3 separate regions of the Homo sapiens genome follow, and regions 2 and 3 are each linked to region 1. Evidence: promoter capture Hi-C in 16 types of primary human blood cells and fetal thymus (Javierre and others, 2016). All regions are on one chromosome and are shown on one strand. The core of a region is centred on a gene start or on the middle of the fragment in contact, and the rest is flanking DNA. Distances in the headings are between cores, read along the strand shown.

Region 1 (3,401 bases), core at 262-2,761:
AGAGACATCTTCCAAATTCCCAGGGGGATGTTAATACCTTTAATCATAGTAAAGGTATGGTTTCTCAAGGCATTTCTTGGTCAGAAGAAAGTTCCAGAAGGCACTTAATCCTAGGACTCACACTACCAAGGCTACAGCCAGGCCAACTGCCTCACAATAACCTTAGAACATGTCTGAAGACAGATTTTCAGCTTCTGCCCCTAGAGATTCTAATGCAGTGATTCCAAAGTGGGGTCCAGGAATCTGTATTAAAGGCTTCCCAGTTGACTCTGGTGGTCAGAGAGATTTGAGACTGATTCCATCACATTCCCCATCTGTGAACGGGATCATACCTAGACAGCCCAGCCCTAGAACTGCCTGGTCTGATCCTAAGTGTTCCATGGAGATTTTGTTTTTTTAATGTAATGAATGATTAAGTCAGCAAATACTTTACATCTCTTGTGTGCTAGGCCCTGTGCCAGGTGGTGATTATGGGCCCTATTCTCAAAGGACTCCTGGTCTCCGTCTGTCACTTACTTTAGAAACAAGTCATCTAGCCAGAGCCAGAAGGGCACTGGAGATCACTAATCAATCCCATCATTACATAGCTGAGGAAACTGAGGCCCAGAGAGTAACTGCAACATGTTAAAGACTACACAGGGAGCAAATTTATTTTCTGCTTCTAAGCCAGGTGGTTTGGCCACAGATAGGCCAAGAAGAATACGAACAGACAAGCCTTGCTGGGTTTCCCACTCAGTTTATTACTATTAGACCATTCCCTTTTTCCCCACTCACATTTCTGCGCATTTCCATGGTCTTCATAGAATCTAAGCCTAAAAATAGAGTTTTCCTTGAGTCTTTGGGTCTTCATTTCTGAAGACTCTCATGTCACAGAAAACTTTAATTAAATAAATCGTTATGCTTTTCTCTTGCTAACCTTTTTCTACAGGCATGTCAGCTGTGATCCTTATGATGGGGAGGAAAGGCACCCCACCTTCTCTGTCCCTACAGTCCTAATGCCCTACCCAGAATGGGGTTTTCAAAATCCCAGGACACCCACTCTTTGTTTCTTAAGCACTAAACCTATATATAGTAAATGTTTCTGGAAGTTTAACTTCAGCTCTTGCTGAAATTTTAAACCCTCAATTTCCAGAGGACCATCGCCAGGTGTTTTTAAAACCTCGATAGGAATAAGAAATGCTTCCCAGAATGGAGACTTCCATCAGTTCTAGGGAGCTATTAGCCCCCTTGCCCTGGCTGTAATGGAGACCGCTGTGTCTGCCTCCTTTCGCACTTTGGAGCCAAAAGAGGAAGGGACCGCCTCCCACGTCCACAGGGACCTGACTTCCACCTCTCTGCCCAGATTTGCTTATGTCACTGTCGCCCCGGGACGGGGAGGTGGGGAGCTGAGGGCAAGTCGCGCCCGCCCCTGAAATCCCAGCCGCCTAGCGATTGGCTGCAAGGGTCTCGGCTTGGCCGCGGATTGGTCACACCCGAGGGCTTGAAAGGTGGCTGGGAGCGCCGGACACCTCAGACGGACGGTGGCCAGGGATCAGGCAGCGGCTCAGGCGACCCTGAGTGTGCCCCCACCCCGCCATGGCCCGGCTGCTGCAGGCGTCCTGCCTGCTTTCCCTGCTCCTGGCCGGCTTCGTCTCGCAGAGCCGGGGACAAGAGAAGTCGAAGGTGAGTGAGCCTCCGGGCCGGGGGCCGGGAGAAAAAACCTAGCCCCTCGGTGTCCAGCGCTCAGTGCAATGCACCCCTTTTCCCAGGCTCCCCGCCAGATGGGCAATCCCCAGGTGCGAGAGACCTCCTGAACCCCTTTTGCCGCCCCCTCCGCCGCCGGGACCCCGCCCCCGACCGTCGTCGTCTCGTAGTTCCATCTGTTGGAGAGCCGAGACCTGGTGCTTCAGGCGGGCAGAATGACTAAGGGAGGAAGGTCTCTCTCCCCGAGCTCGCACTTTCTCCCCACTGCCACCTCGAGGGTCGCCTTGCTACATCTATGTCACCTCCGTGCCTGAGCTGCTCCCCTTCAGTAGGGCCTAAGAGGGAGGGCGTCACAGAAAAAAATGCCCAGCGTCTGGGTGGGCTGTGCAAGTTCCCAGGGAGAGAGACAAGGAGAAAGGAGAGAGGCAGCTGGGTGGTCCTGGTCCTGAAGAACTGCTGTGGGGGGCTCTTCTACCCCAAGAATGATACAGGCAGGTAGAAATGGCCACTTGGATTCAGGGCATTGGTAGAAGAGGCAGAGATCTGTGCTAGAAAGAGCTCTGGAGTGACAGTGCAGAACACTCAGGACCCTGAGTCCTTACCTGCTCCTGGACCCCCGTTTCTCCATCTGCAGGGGAGAGTTTGGGGGTGGGAGTGCATGGGGCACAATGAAGCTGAGGGCCTCAGAGGGGATGCTTGGAGAAGCTGAAAAATCCACAAGCTGTTCTCTGAAATTTCCTCCCCTGGGGCAGCCTCACTACCCAGGACCCACTGTCCTCATTAGCCTGAGGAAACCTGGTAGTTGGAGAAAGCTGGGGACTGCTAATTCAGAAGAAGAGGTAGAATTCTCTAGAGCCTCAGTCTATTTCCAGCAGGTGTGTGGCCCACACCTGGAGTGGGGATACTGAGGCCAGGAGTGGGATGACCCAGCATGCTTATCTCCTTTGACAGTATGTACTGGGGTGGGCTCTGTAGACCTCTCCTCTACCCAGGGAGTGGGAGTGGGTGGGGAAGGAGGCAGAAGCCAGGTGTAGGGATAGACTCAAAGCGAGCGATTTCTGTCTCCAACTTCCCAACATGCATAACTCACATTTTTGCAAGCTCTGAGCTTTTGTTTCTAAAATCCTCTGGGTCTTCACTTTAATTAAGTTCTTATGAGTCTAGGATTCCGTTTCCAAAATTCTGTCCACTTCTCAGGAAGCCCATTGGAAGCACAGGGTTCCTTCCATGTTACTCACCCCTTTTCGGTCCTCAGCCTAAATCCGATTAATCAGCCTCTCCTTGGAGTCAGTCTAAATGGATGTGAAGCCACTTCGTCCAAGTCCCCTCCTTTTTATCCATCCCTGTTCATAATCCCCAACTCAGAAGGCATTTTCCAGGTCAGGAATGGGATCGATTTTCAACATTGAGGTTTGGGGTGGGCCATAGACAGGCCAGCACCGTGGAGTCAGTCCCAACCTTCAGTTTTGGAAAGGTCAAAGAAGATACAATTGGGCCCTGCCTCAAGAAGGCTAGTGGGGAGAACGTGGACTCCATGAATAACTCATCATAGCTGTGTCTTCTCTGCAGCACTCTGGGGAAGGATAAATGGACTCAGAGAGAATAGGATGGGGATGGTCTAGAAAAGTTTTAGGGTGAGGTGTGATCATATCACATACAACCAGTCAGGACTTGCTGGCTAATGAAAGCCTGGGCATGCCCATCTCTGCTCCCAAGTT
Region 2 (3,401 bases), core at 294-2,793, 240 kb after region 1:
TCAGGGACGGGGGTGCCTCACCCAAGGTCACTCTGCCAGGAGCTCATTTTTCCTGTGATCTGTGATAGTTTCTTTTGTCAACCTTTTTCTTCTTCTCCTTCCTTGCTGCCTGATTGTCCCCAGCCATCCCAGCTCAGTAGCTTTTCCTGGGATAACTGTGATGAAGGGAAGGACCCTGCGGTGATCAGAAGCCTGACTCTGGAGCCTGACCCCATCATCGTTCCTGGAAATGTGACCCTCAGTGTCATGGGCAGCACCAGTGTCCCCCTGAGTTCTCCTCTGAAGGTGAGCCTGGGGGTGGGTGGAGAAGGGGAGGTGCGAGGGTCTGGCCAGCAGGGGTACTGGGGCATGTATGCTTGGGGAACTGTGAAGAATTTCAGAATCCTGGATTCCCAGAGAATAGTACAGGACATGTAGATTCAGACACTCTTTCACAGGTTCATGGAATCTCAGGATCATAAGATTGAAAGGAATCTCTGATGTCAGCGCCAGCAACTTCCTGGTGAGGGCAGGAGTGACGGATACCTTGCACCTGGCAGAAGCGTCCTGGCCTTCTCTGGGCCTGGTGGCCAACTGCTCATTATTGTCTGACAGCTCTGGTTGGCCAATTTGGTTTTGTTGTTAATTATAAAATTGATATACCAATTAGCCAGTAATATATAGTCACTTTAGAAAACACAAGTGGTCAAAAAATAAATAAAATAGGCCAGGTGTGGTGGCTCATGCCTGTAATCCCAACACTTTGGGAGGCTGAGGTGGGTGGATCTTTTGAGGTCAGGAGTTTGAGACCAGCCTGGCCAACATAGTGAAACCCCATCTCTACTAAAAGTACAAAAATTAGCTGGGCGTGGTGGCATGTGCCTGTAATCCTAGCTACTCAGGAGGCTGAGGTAGGAGAATTGCTGGAACCCAAGAGGCAGAGGTTGCAGAAAGCCAGGATCGCACCACTGCACTCCAGCCTGGGTGACAGAGTGAAACTCTGTCCCAAAATAAATAAATAAATAAAATAAATCACTTGAAATCTCACTACCTAGTGATAAGGGATAAGCACTTTTAACATCTTATAGGATATTCTTTGCAACTTTCCCCCATACAATTACATACATAACACACATATTTATTTTTAATGGATATGTATGATAATAGGCAGTGCTCATTGTAAATGTCCTCCAGTAATCTAAATCCTAGAGATAGTCAGTGTTTGCTCTTTATATATCCCATCAGAATTTTTATGTGTTTGTAAATATATACACACTTATACTCATGGGATTATATGATATGTGCTATTATACTTGCTATTTTTTTTGCCTCATACTATATGTCCATATCTTTCCAAGGATTAGGTGGCTCTACTTATTCAATTTTTTTTTATCCAATCATTATTTTATTATTTTAATGTATTGTAATTTTAGAGACAGTGTGTCACTCTGTTGCTCAGGCTGGAGTGCAGTAGTGTGATCATGGCTTACTGCAGCCTTGACCTCCTGGGCTTAAGGGATCCTCCCACCTCAGCCTCCTGAGTAGCTGGGACCACAGGTTCATGTCACCATGCTTACCTAATTTTTTTATTTTTTATGGAGACGGAGCCTCCCTGTGTTGCCCAGGCTGGTCTCAAACTCCTGAGTTCAAGCAATCCTCCTGCCTCAGACTCTCAAAATGTTGGGATTATAGGCGTGAGCCACCTTGCTCAGCCCACCCAATCATTTTTAATGGCAGAAATATTCTGATGTGGATCTTTCATAATTTATATAACAAGTCTATTGTTGAACATTTAGTTTGTTTCCAGGGTAGTTTTTATTTGTTTGTTTGTTTATTTGTTTGTTTTGAGACAGGTTCTTACTCTGTTGCCTAGGCTGGAGTGCAGTAGCGCAATCTCAGCTCCCTGCAACCTCCACTTCCCGGGTTCAAGCGATTCTCCTGTCTCAGCCTCCCAAAGTGCTGGGATTACAGGCACCTGCCATTGCGCCCCACTAATTTTTGTATTTTTAGTAGAGATGGGGTTTCACCATGTTGGCCAGGCTGGTCTTGAACTCCTGACCTCAGGCAATGTGCCTGCCTCGGCCTCCCAAAGTGCTGGGATTACAGACACCTGCCACCATGCCCAGCTACTTTTTGTATTTTTAGTAGAGATGGGGTTTCACCATGTTATCCAGGCTGGTCTTGAACTCCTGACCTCAGGCAATCCACCTGCCTCAGCCTCCCAAAGTGCTGGGATTATAGGCTTGAGCCACTGTACCTGGCCAGAGGGTTTTTTTTGTTTGTTTGTTTTTTGTTTTGCTGTAGTAACCACCTTTGTAGAAATTATTCTTATAGTACATCTTTTTATAATTTTCTGATTCTCTAGATACACACTTTTTAGGTCTTTTGATACATTTTGCCAAAGTGCCTCCCAATGTTTGAATAAACCTGCATCATTCCTAGTGAGCGTAGATGTCTATTCATAAGTTTATTTGCCTTTTGTATTTACTTTGGGAATAACCTGTTTGTTTCCATCCATTGACTATTTTAGGGGTGTATGTTTTTATATTTTCTTAGAAAACAATGAAGACTTTTCATATATCCATTGCAACACCATTTAATATGGTCCTTTCCTCTCTAGCTAAAATTGCTACCTTTATATGATGCTCCTCTATGCCCTTCAGTCTGTTCCTGATCCAGATCTATTCTAGTACCAGTTTTGTGTTAATTATTTAGAAGATTCCTGATTTGGATTCTGTGTTTCTATCATTATCCTTAGACCTGTCTTAATCACAGCTCCTACGTTATGGGCTTTCCTTGAGCAATACCTGAGTTAGAAAATCATGTGGAAAGTGCTTTGCACAGGGCCTGGCACCCAGGACATGCTCAGTACATTTTATATCTTGTGAACATTTCGATTAGTATCTGTCTTATCCTGCAGTCTCTTGACCCAGACACAAGTCCTGGATATGTGGCAGCTTTCAGCTCCCCTGCACCTCCTACCAAGCCTTTTCCTAGCAGAGTCATTGTGTTTCCATTACTGTTCCTCAAGTGATAGGGGGTCAAGCCCTGTACCCTTGGATCTGGGCCAAGGGATGGAATCATTCCCTATGTATGGACACTGGACTGTTTCTCTGCCAGGGTCACACACATTTATTTGTGTGCTCCCTCTGCTGATCTGGAGTGTGGGCTCTCCTGGTAGGCCGTCCGCCATGCTCCCTCTGCTGCCATCACCATGCAGCCACTGGTGTTTCCAGGGAGGGGGCTATGCAGCTGACTTGGAAACAAGAAGCTGGCAAACCCGCTCTTCTGCCCTCAGCCTGCTTTTCCTGGCTTCTTCACAAACCATTAAGATGGGTTTTACTCCCTATTCTCCTTTTCCATTGCTTTATTACCTTTCATAAATTTGGGCCTACATAATCTCCTCTGTCTTTACTGTCACT
Region 3 (3,401 bases), core at 663-3,162, 140 kb after region 1:
TACTGGAGAGGCTGAGGTGGGATGATCCCTTGAAGCTGGAAGGTAGAGGCTGCAGTGAGCCGTGATTGCACCACTGCACTCCAGCCTGGGCGACAGAGTGAGAACTTGTCTCAAAAAAACAAAAGTACAAAAAACTTGTGCTCTAGTCATTATGAAATGGCATCTATAATTGTGTTTTTGATTTGCATTTCCCTTCTGACTAATGATGTGGAGTATCTTTTTTGTGTGCTCATTGGCCACTATTTGTACATCTTCTTTGGAAAAATATCTAATCATGCTTTTTGCTCATTTTTAAATTGGATTTTTTGTCTTTTTTGTTGTTAAGTTATATGAGTTCTTTTTATATTCTGGATAAGACTTTTGTGTTTGTTTGAGACAGAGGCTCGTTCTGTTGCCCAGGCTGGAGTGCAGTGGTGCCATGTCGGCTCACTGCAACCTTCACCTCGTGGGTTCAAGCAATTCTTTCCGCCTCAGCCTCCCAAATAGCTGGGATTACAGGCACCTGCTACCATGCCCAGTTAATTTTTGTATTTTTTTAGTAGAGACGGGGATTCATCATGTTGGCCAGGTTGGTCTTGAACTCCTGACCTCAGGTGATCCACCTGCCTTGGCCTCCCAAAGTGCTGGGATTACAGGTGTGAGCCACCGCACCTGGCCAAGACATATTTTTTAAAGGGTCACTGAAGTCTCCTGTGTTGGAAATACTGAATACTGTTGGGGGAAGAGTAGAAGAAGGGGATCTGCTAGGAGATTTTGCAGTAATCCAGGCAAGAGACAGGCTGGTATAAATGCAGGTGGGGGAAGTGGTTGGAGATGGGATGTATTTGAAGGTTGAACATGATTTCCGAAGGATCAGGTGGGAGATGAGAAAGAGTCAAGAATGGCTTCAGGGATCCTGGCCTGAGCCACTGGAAGGATGGAGTTACCATCAACTGAAATGAGCAAGACTGCAGGGAAAGCAATTTTGGGAATTAGAAGTGGGGAAAAGATCAGGAGTTCAGTTTTTGACCAGTTTGTTGAACATTTCTATTAGACACCCAACAGGAGATGTCAAGTACGCAGTTGGCTAGTCAAGTCTGGAGTTCAAGAGATGAGATCCTTAAGGGAGAAGAGAACTAAATATGGAGTCCTAGTTCGGCAAAAGGAGTCAGGCTGGCAGGACCAAGGGAAAGCAAAAAGAGAAAGCAGATAAGCTATAAGTCTGCCTTTCTTCATGGCCCAGGATGCATAGCCCTCCTGTGCGAATAACTCACAATCTTATCTGCGCCCAGCTATTGCCAGACCCTCACCTGATAGAAAAATGCACGCAAGCTCCCTGCACCCTTGATGTTATCAGTACTGCACAAAGCCCTCTTCAGCACACAGCACAAGCACCATCCTATAAAATCCTTAGCCAGATTTTGTTTTCTTGCAGTTAGCTTCTGTTTTGCTAACTTGCCCGTTGCACCCTTGCAACGTATTTTCTTTTCTTTTCTGTTTTTCTTTTGAGATGAAGTCTCACTCTGTCGCCCAGACTGTAGTGCAGTGGCACTATCTCGACTCACCACAACCTCCGCCTCCCGGGTTCAAGCGATTCTTCTGCCTTAGGCTCCTGAGTAGCTGGGATTACAGGTGCGTGCCACCACACCTGGCTAATATTTGTATTTTTAGTAGAGATGGGTTTTCACCATGTTGATCAGGCTGGTCTCAAACTCCTGACCTCGTGATCCACCTCGGCTTCCCAAAGTGCTGGGATTATAGGCATGAGCCACCACGTCTGGCAGCAATGTATTTTCATACTTTCTCTAATAAATCTGCCTTTCTTTACCTACAACTGCCTTGGTAAATTCTTCTTACTGCCTGTACCGCCAGCCCCAAATAGTTGCTGATCACCCACGATGCTAAGGACCGAGTCTGAGACACTCTTATGTTACCATTTGGGGAGAGGCCGGACCCGGTGGCTCATGCCTGTAATTCCAGCACTTTGGGAGGCTGAGGTGGGTGGATCACTTGAGGCCAGGAGTTCAAGACCAGCCTGACCAACATAGTTAAACCCCATCTCTACTAAAAATACAAAAAGTTAGCTGGACGTGGTGGTGCATGCTGTAATCCCAGCTACTTGGGAGGCTGAGGCAGGAGAATCACTCCCAGGAGGTGGAGATTGCAGTGAGATGGCACCATTGCACTCCAGCCTGAGAGACAGAGTGAGACTCTCAAAAAATAAAATAAAAGAGTTGGGGAGAAGAAAAGAATTCAGCAAAGGTGACTGGGAAGGAGATTGTAGTAAGATGGGAGGAAACTACCCCAGGAGAATGTGGCAGCAAAGTGAAAAATAAGGGAGTGATCAGGTGTGTCAAATGCTGCTTTTAGGTAAAGTAGGACAAGGTCTACAAATCTATCATTGGGTTTAGCAATGTGAAAGCCAACTTATCTCTTGCTGTGAATTGCAGAATGTTGGGGGTAAAGGCCTGATGGGAACGGTGTAAGATAAAAAGCCTAAACTACTTATTCTGGGAGTTTTGCTGCGAAGGCCAGCAAGGGAATGAGGCAGTGTCTGGCAAGGGAATTGGTGTCAAGAGAAGGGCTTTTGTTTGATTTTTTTAAAGATTGAAGACATAACAGCATATTTGTATGCTGGTGGGAGTTATCATATAGAAGGTAAAAAAATTGATGGAGGAGAGAGAAGGGAGAATTCCTGCAGCAATGTTTGGAGACAGAATGGGCTGTAGTGTACAAATGTCAGGGCTATTTGTATTCTTAATTTGCAATAAAAGTAACTGAAATTTTTGATCTTTGCCCAAATTCAGCCCACGTGACTGAGGCAGGATTGAAAGCCAGATTCCCTTGACTGCAGAGCCCAGGGCCTTAATTCCTGAGCTACAGCAGCAAGTAGGAGTAAACACTAATATACTGCTCATTCTCTTTGAGCTAATCATCACTTACAGGAATCAATCCTAAGAAAATAATCTAAAATACAGAGGAAGCTGTAGGCCCAACACTGTTTTATTGTTGTTGTTGGAGACAGGGTCTCACTCTGTCACTCAGGCTGGACTGCAGTGGTGTGATCATGGCTCAACTGCAGCCTTGACCTCCCCAGGATCAGGTGATCCCCTCACCTCAGCCTCCCAAGTAGCTGAGACTACAGGTGTATGCCACCTGCCCAGCTAATTTTTGTATTTTTTGTAGAGATGGCGTGTCACCATCTTGCCTAGGCTGGTCTCCTATGCTCAAGCCATCCTCCTGCCTCAGCCTCCCAAAATGCTGGGATTACACCAGCATTGGTATAATGTGAGCCACCATGCCCAACTTTTTTTTTTTCATTCTTTTTTTTTTTTTGAGACAGGGTCTCATTCTGTCCCCCAGGCTGGAGCAGTAGCACAATCTCAGCTCACTTCGGCCTCAACCTCCTGGGCTCAAGCTAT

Evidence for each region. Contacts are between HindIII fragments. The CHiCAGO score rates a contact against its expected background, and 5 or more counts as called.
Region 2: a contact is called between a fragment that was not itself captured here and the fragment with the promoter of GPX3 in region 1, in 1 of 17 cell types (neutrophils). The highest score is 5.2, in neutrophils.
Region 3: a fragment that was not itself captured here is called in contact with the fragment with the promoter of GPX3 in region 1 in 1 of 17 cell types (M2 macrophages); the score reaches 5.7 in M2 macrophages.

The regions. Positions count from the first base shown.
Region 1 is chr5:151,019,080-151,022,480 of GRCh38, forward strand. GPX3 (glutathione peroxidase 3) reads left to right here and starts at 1,512. Exons shown (of 5, transcript NM_002084.5): 1 at 1,512-1,662. The coding sequence starts at 1,576. RefSeq lists an enhancer at 2,957-3,401. The HindIII fragment of the contact is 15,890 bases long and covers 1-3,401 here.
Region 2 is chr5:151,259,632-151,263,032 of GRCh38, forward strand. GM2A (ganglioside GM2 activator) reads left to right here. Exons shown (of 4, transcript NM_000405.5): 2 at 124-285. Among named protein-coding and RNA genes, the nearest start is that of GM2A, 8.1 kb to the left of the region's middle. The HindIII fragment of the contact is 6,835 bases long and covers 1-3,401 here.
Region 3 is chr5:151,160,167-151,163,567 of GRCh38, forward strand. No RefSeq gene overlaps it. Among named protein-coding and RNA genes, the nearest start is that of ANXA6, 4.1 kb to the left of the region's middle. The HindIII fragment of the contact is 7,646 bases long and covers 1-3,401 here.